2 separate regions of the Homo sapiens genome follow, and region 1 is linked to region 2. Evidence: promoter capture Hi-C in human tissues and cell types (Jung and others, 2019). All regions are on one chromosome and are shown on one strand. Each heading gives the region's core, a stretch centred on a gene start or on the middle of the fragment in contact. The rest is flanking DNA. Distances are from core to core; before and after follow the strand shown.

The links. The method cuts DNA at HindIII sites, captures the fragments that hold promoters and counts their contacts. A contact is called where the count stands out against the background at its distance.
Region 1: a contact is called between a fragment that was not itself captured here and the fragment with the promoter of MAGI2 in region 2, in 1 of the 25 tissues and cell types used here (hippocampus).

Annotation. Positions count from the first base shown.
Region 1 is chr7:78,019,109-78,022,136 of GRCh38, reverse strand. It overlaps MAGI2 (membrane associated guanylate kinase, WW and PDZ domain containing 2), which reads left to right. Exons shown (of 22, transcript NM_012301.4): 22 at 2,161-3,028. The coding sequence ends at 2,822. Among named protein-coding and RNA genes, the nearest start is that of DDX3ILA1, 30 kb to the right of the region's middle. RefSeq lists a silencer at 2,454-2,613 and an enhancer at 2,594-3,028. The HindIII fragment of the contact is 5,187 bases long and covers 1-3,028 here.
Region 2 is chr7:79,452,242-79,455,181 of GRCh38, reverse strand. It overlaps MAGI2 (membrane associated guanylate kinase, WW and PDZ domain containing 2), which reads left to right and starts at 1,515. Exons shown (of 22, transcript NM_012301.4): 1 at 1,515-2,162. The coding sequence starts at 1,862. MAGI2-AS3 (MAGI2 antisense RNA 3) reads right to left here and starts at 2,225. Exons shown (of 4, transcript NR_038346.1): 1 at 1,991-2,225; 2 at 1,527-1,595. RefSeq lists an enhancer at 2,775-2,940. The HindIII fragment of the contact is 8,431 bases long and covers 1-2,940 here.

The DNA of each region.
Region 1 (3,028 bases), core at 426-2,925, 1.4 Mb after region 2:
CATTGGATATATTTGCCTTTGAGGATTTCAGACTATTCCTTAAGGTAACCAAGGATACCTGAGGTGTAGCAAAATGACACCTGGGAATCACAGCACCTGGAAATGACTGCCTTATTGCACTTATTCAAAACCTCACCTGCAAAGGTACTAGTTAATGAGGCGGCTTCCACAGGAGCCCAATCCATAAGTAGGCAGCAGGTGGGGTACAGAAGAAAAATATGATTGACCCTCCCATTGCAAAGTGCTTTCCCTTAGAAAGTGTATGTCTCACATCTGTAAAGTTGGATATTTTATCCCCATCTTATAAAGGAAGAAATTGAGGCTCAGAGAGATTTAGTTGTTGGTCCAAAATCACGTCACCAGTAAATACATGCCAGAGCCAGGATTAGATTCCAGGACTTCTAGGATTTTACCATGTGAAAATGATAATGGACATCAGTGTATGGAAGAAGGAAGGTTAACATTATGCCCAAAATGTTCCATTCGAATTTCACATAGAATGAGAAACGTTTTTGATTTGCCATTCTAAAGATGGCCAGAATTATTGGGAAAACCATTGCCACTGCCCTTTTCCTCTCCTTATTGCTTTATAAATCAGTATCAAAGGTACTATATAAGAACCCTCAAGTTTCAAACAAAGTAGACCCTGGACATTAATGGACTGAGTATGCACAAGTATCACTGACAGCCTCTGACACGTTACAGAGGCAAGAGCTTGAATCACATGCACTGAGGTTGCTGTGTGGGACTGAATCTTTTAGCTAGTGAGGGAGGCTCACCTGGCACCCAGAATTCAAATCTATCAATGTGGTTTCTTCGTTCTCCACTCATGACCATATACCAATTCTGTGGAAGAAAAATTACACTCTAGAATATCACAAAATTTGAGCATTTCCAAGGTCATGAGACATATTTCTTACAAATATCAAGGATTCACAGTAATTGGATTTCCCTGCTTTCATTTCCCCTTAGTGGCCAGAAGCTCCAGGGAACTGTTGTTGCTCACAGTAGCAGCTAACTCATCTCAGATTCCTAATACATCTGTCCTTCTACTTGGCCTCTGACCAGCTGTTGCTTTAAAAAAAAAGTCATCTCTCATTTTAATCATTGTTTTATATGTGTTTTGATGTTGTCAATTGTCTTAAATCCTTTTTGGAAGTAGGTAACTTAAATCCTAAGTAAATGTTGGAACTAGACTTCCTAGAAAGAATTATCTTAGTCCTGGGGCCCTCCATAATGTTAGAAGTACTAAAAAGAATTAAGTTCCATCCGGACTTGGCAAAGAAAAAAAATGGAATTAAGGACGATTTTTTTTAAAAAATGATAGTTTTAAAATGTATTTATCCAAATTCTGAAACTGACAGCAGCTAGGAATATGCTTTGAGTGACACCTACTGGTTGAGAACGTCACTTCCCAACTTCCAGAGAACCCAGACCAGTGTTTCTCAAAGCTTGGCTCTAAACCAAGCTTGTCCAACCCGCCTCCAGCTTTGAATGTGACCCAACACAAATTTGTAAACTTTCTTAAAAGATTATGAGATTTATGCATGGACCTTTTTTTTTTGAGCCCATCAGCTATCGTTAGTGTATTTTATGTGTAGCCCAAGACAATTCTAATGTAGCCCAAAGAAGCCAAAAGATTGGACACCCCTGCTAGGCCACCTTTTTCAGAATGGGTGCCTGATAAAAATACAGAGGACTTCCTGGGCCCCGTGCTGCTGAAACCTCCGGGCCTGCTCCTCCCGGGGAATCTGTATTTTTCACCACCACCCTGGTGATTCCAAGGTCTACTCGAGTTGGAGACCCATTTATTCAAGGGCTGTCAAGTGAGCTGTCTATACAGGACTATCAGGCCCGAGAACACCCCCGGAAGTTAGCAGGGCCAAGGCGAAGGGATTAGGCCTGGGCTTCGCGTTGGCCTCCCCGGTCCACGGACGAGGTTCGGGGCGTGGGGGCTAAGCGGGGCGGAGGGAACCCCCAAATCCCCGGGGGCGCGGCCGCTGCCCTCTCGGCAGTGAGGGTGGGGGTGGGGGTGGGGGCGGCGGTGGCTCCGGCCCCTGAGAGCAATCGCCCCAGCTGCCTGCCCCTGTCCCCGGCGTAGAGAGGGCACGGGGACGTCCTGCGTGCGCCACTGCTAACGCCTGTGCTTCCCGTCCACAGACGAACCCGCCCCCTGGAGTTCTCCCGCTGCCGCCGCCCCAGGTCTGCCGGAAGTAGGCGTCTCCCTGGACGACGGCCTCGCTCCATTCTCTCCATCACATCCAGCCCCACCCTCCGACCCTTCCCACCAGATAAGCCCAGGCCCAACTTGGGATATCAAACGGGAACACGACGTTAGGAAACCAAAGGAGCTTTCAGCCTGCGGCCAGAAGAAGCAGCGCCTCGGGGAGCAGAGGGAGCGCTCGGCGAGTCCGCAGAGGGCCGCGCGGCCGAGGCTCGAGGAGGCGCCCGGCGGCCAGGGGCGGCCCGAGGCCGGCAGGCCCGCCTCGGAGGCCAGGGCGCCCGGGCTCGCGGCGGCAGACGCGGCGGACGCGGCGCGGGCGGGCGGGAAGGAGGCGCCCCGTGCGGCGGCGGGCTCCGAGCTCTGCCGGCGCGAAGGCCCGGGGGCTGCGCCGGCGTTTGCCGGCCCGGGCGGCGGCGGCAGCGGCGCGCTGGAGGCCGAGGGCAGGGCGGGTGCGCGCGCGGGTCCCCGGCCGGGCCCGCGACCCCCGGGGGGCGCCCCGGCGCGCAAGGCCGCCGTCGCGCCGGGGCCCTGGAAGGTGCCGGGTTCTGACAAGCTGCCCAGCGTCCTCAAACCCGGCGCCTCGGCCGCCAGCAGATGAGCCGCGCGGCCACGGCCAACCCGCCCGCCCCGGCGCAGGCAGTTCTTCTTAGGTTCCGTCTCACGGCGTTTTAATTTATTTTCACTGTCACACGCATAGATCCACGAGGCACCAAGGCCTGGGAGCATCGACGTGAAGTCCCACGTGTCCGGTGTGCTTGGGCGGCATCGCATCAACGCGCAGACCTAAACTGATCCTAAAGCCCC
Region 2 (2,940 bases), core at 266-2,765:
GACTCAACATTTTTAACCGTATTGTTTGCCTCCTACATCGCCTTCATCTCAGACATTAAGAATCCTACCTATTCAATGCTTTTCATCCTCCGCTTTAAAGAGATAAGTGGGTGCACAACTTTTTTTTTGCCTGAAACATATCATCTAAAAGTTAAGCAAATGAAATTCATTTACCAGTTACAGGAATCTTTTTCTTAAATCACTGTTAATGTCTCACAGGAAATTAGCTCTTCAGTGGAAATCAGCAGCCTCCCTGCATCCTTTTGCCCCTGTCCTCCCCTCTCTTGGATGCAAACCTGGCGAAAAGAAGGGAACACTGCTTGGGGTCAGCGAGCTGAGTTCCAGCTCCGAATGTACCATTTTCACCCTCGGGAGTCTTCTCCCCTTTCTCTGTGAGCAAAGGAGTGTTGGGCCAGACCGTCTTAAGGATTCTTCCCCAGGTACAAGCCGGACTCTGGCGGCTTTCCTGGGCAAGGGAGTGTCTCCGCCTTGTCTCTGCCGCAGGTCCCTGGTTAAATTGTCAATTTCTCTGCGGAGGCTGCTCACTGCATCCGCTCCCTCCACCCCTAGCCCTGTAGACCCCTTCTCTTTCCCCTACTTGGGAAAAGTGAAGCCCCTTATCCTTGGATAGCCTTTCACCAGACAACCGCAGCCGTCCGCTAAATTCCCCTACTGGCGGGACGCGCGGGCGGGGGCCTGCCCCGGGGAATGCGAGGCTGCTTCCCTTCTGCGTAATCAGGGTACGCAGCCTCCAGTTCTCTAACTTTCTCCTTCTCTAAGAGGGAATTTCGAGAACTTTAAGACAAATAAGTGACTATATAGATGAAGACATGAAACCTCTCTACACAGTGAACTCCCCCACGCTACAAGGCTCCCAGGGATCCCAGGCCTTCTCCCGCAATGCCCCGCCGGGTCCCCCGCCCCAACTCCTTCTCACGGCAGGATCCCGCGCCAGGACGCTCGCAGAGCCCGAGATGTGGCACCAGGCGCGCCACAAGTCCAGGTCCCGCTATTTCTGCTCCATCGGAGCCCAGGTCGGAGGGAGTCAGCGCGTCCTCCTCGCACAGGAGCCTGGCGCGCGGCTCGGTCGCACAGAGGCTGAAGAAAGGTCCGCACTGGGCTCGAGGCCCTTCCTGCCGGCCTCCCCACGCCGGGCCTAGGCTCCCCTCCTTCCCGGCTCCCGCCTCCTCCCGTAGGCTGCCAGGCGGACCCAGCCTGCCTCTCTCTCTGCCTTCACTACCGGGTCAAGCTGCGGAGGGAGGGAGGGAGGCAGCGGCGAAGCCCTCCGTGGCTCCCCACCCGGCGCGCGCGCCCCTCCTCCCCTGCCTCCTCCCGTCTGCCAGTACAGTAGAACTAGTACACACACACACACACACACACACGCACACGCACCCTGCCACTGCAGCTGCCATGGATATCAGCTAACAACACACACCCAGGCGCGCGCGCGCGTTCCCACTCGCACCACGCAGGAGTGGCCCCCGGCATCCCTACCCTCCTTCCCCACCCCCACCACACCCGCTCACCAGCTCGGCTACTGCTCGCTCCGGCTGCCGCCGCCGCCGCCGCCGACGCCACCACCACTGCTTCCTCTGCTGCGGGGCCACAGCCTTGAGTGTCATTCAAGGGACAGCACAACCTCATCCAAGCTCTCCTACCTCTGCCCAGCCGTCCCTCTCATCCTCCCCATTCCTCGTCCACACTCCATCCAAAGAAGAGGGAAAGCACCGAATAGAGGGGGGCGAAGGCAAAGTCTGCTGTTCTTCCCCCTGGGCCCCCTTGCTCCTCCATCCTCATTCTCTCACCACCAGCCCCCCTAACCCCAAGGAGCCCAGGAACTGAGGCGACTCGCCCCACTGCCATGTCCAAAAGCTTGAAAAAGAAAAGCCACTGGACTAGCAAAGTCCATGAGAGTGTCATTGGCAGGAACCCGGAGGGCCAGCTGGGCTTTGAACTGAAGGGGGGCGCCGAGAATGGACAGTTCCCCTACCTGGGGGAGGTGAAGCCCGGCAAGGTGGCCTATGAGAGCGGCAGCAAATTGGTGTCGGAGGAGCTGCTGCTGGAGGTGAACGAGACCCCCGTGGCGGGGCTCACCATCAGGGACGTGCTGGCCGTGATCAAACACTGCAAGGACCCCCTCCGGCTCAAGTGTGTCAAGCAAGGTGAGAGCAGCGGCTTGCTCAGTGTTTTGCCGGGCGGTGGGACCGCTCGGGGCGCAGGGCAATGAAAGGGTGGCCGCGCATGTTGAAGGGGGTGTGTTGCGCGATGATGGGGTGGGGGCCAGAGAGCACCCGCAGTGCAAGTGAGTTTCGCCGGGGATTCGACTTGGGGGCTAAAGGGAGGGGAGGGGCAGGTTGTGGTGTGGCGTGCAACTTTGTTTGCTCAGTTAGACCCTCCCCTTTGGAAGGTGCTCGGCCTGGTCTGACCTCCTCAGAGCTGCTGGGGCAAATTGAATGTGCGTCAGTGGCATCACCCGAAGCGGATGAAGAGCTTTTGGGGAAGGGAGGAAGGAAGAAAAGAAAGAAAGAATGGGAGGAAGGGAGGGAAAGAAGGAAGGAGCAACTTCAGGGTGCAGCGGCATCACCAGCGGGTCTGGGAAGAGAAGGTGGTGGGGTGAGCGGAGAACTGCGTCCAGCGTTTCTGGGGCTGGGCTGGGGGCGCCTGGGTCCCCAGCTGTCCCTTAGGGATCCGTGAGCCACCGCTGGCGAAGAAAAGAAGGGACAAATTGCTTTGGGCGCTTTGACGGGTCTTCTGTAACTTTTCCCCTTCTTCACTCCGTGTCCCCCTCCCCCGCTCACGGTCGTGTCATGTGGGCATCGCGCGTCACGTGCGTACTGACTAACCCCTGCGCTCACCCCTAGCCAGCCCGGGGGAGGAGGCTCCGGAAGAAGGCGCGGTGCTAGGAGCGCAGTCTAGTGCTGGGCGGGGGTCGGAGGAGAT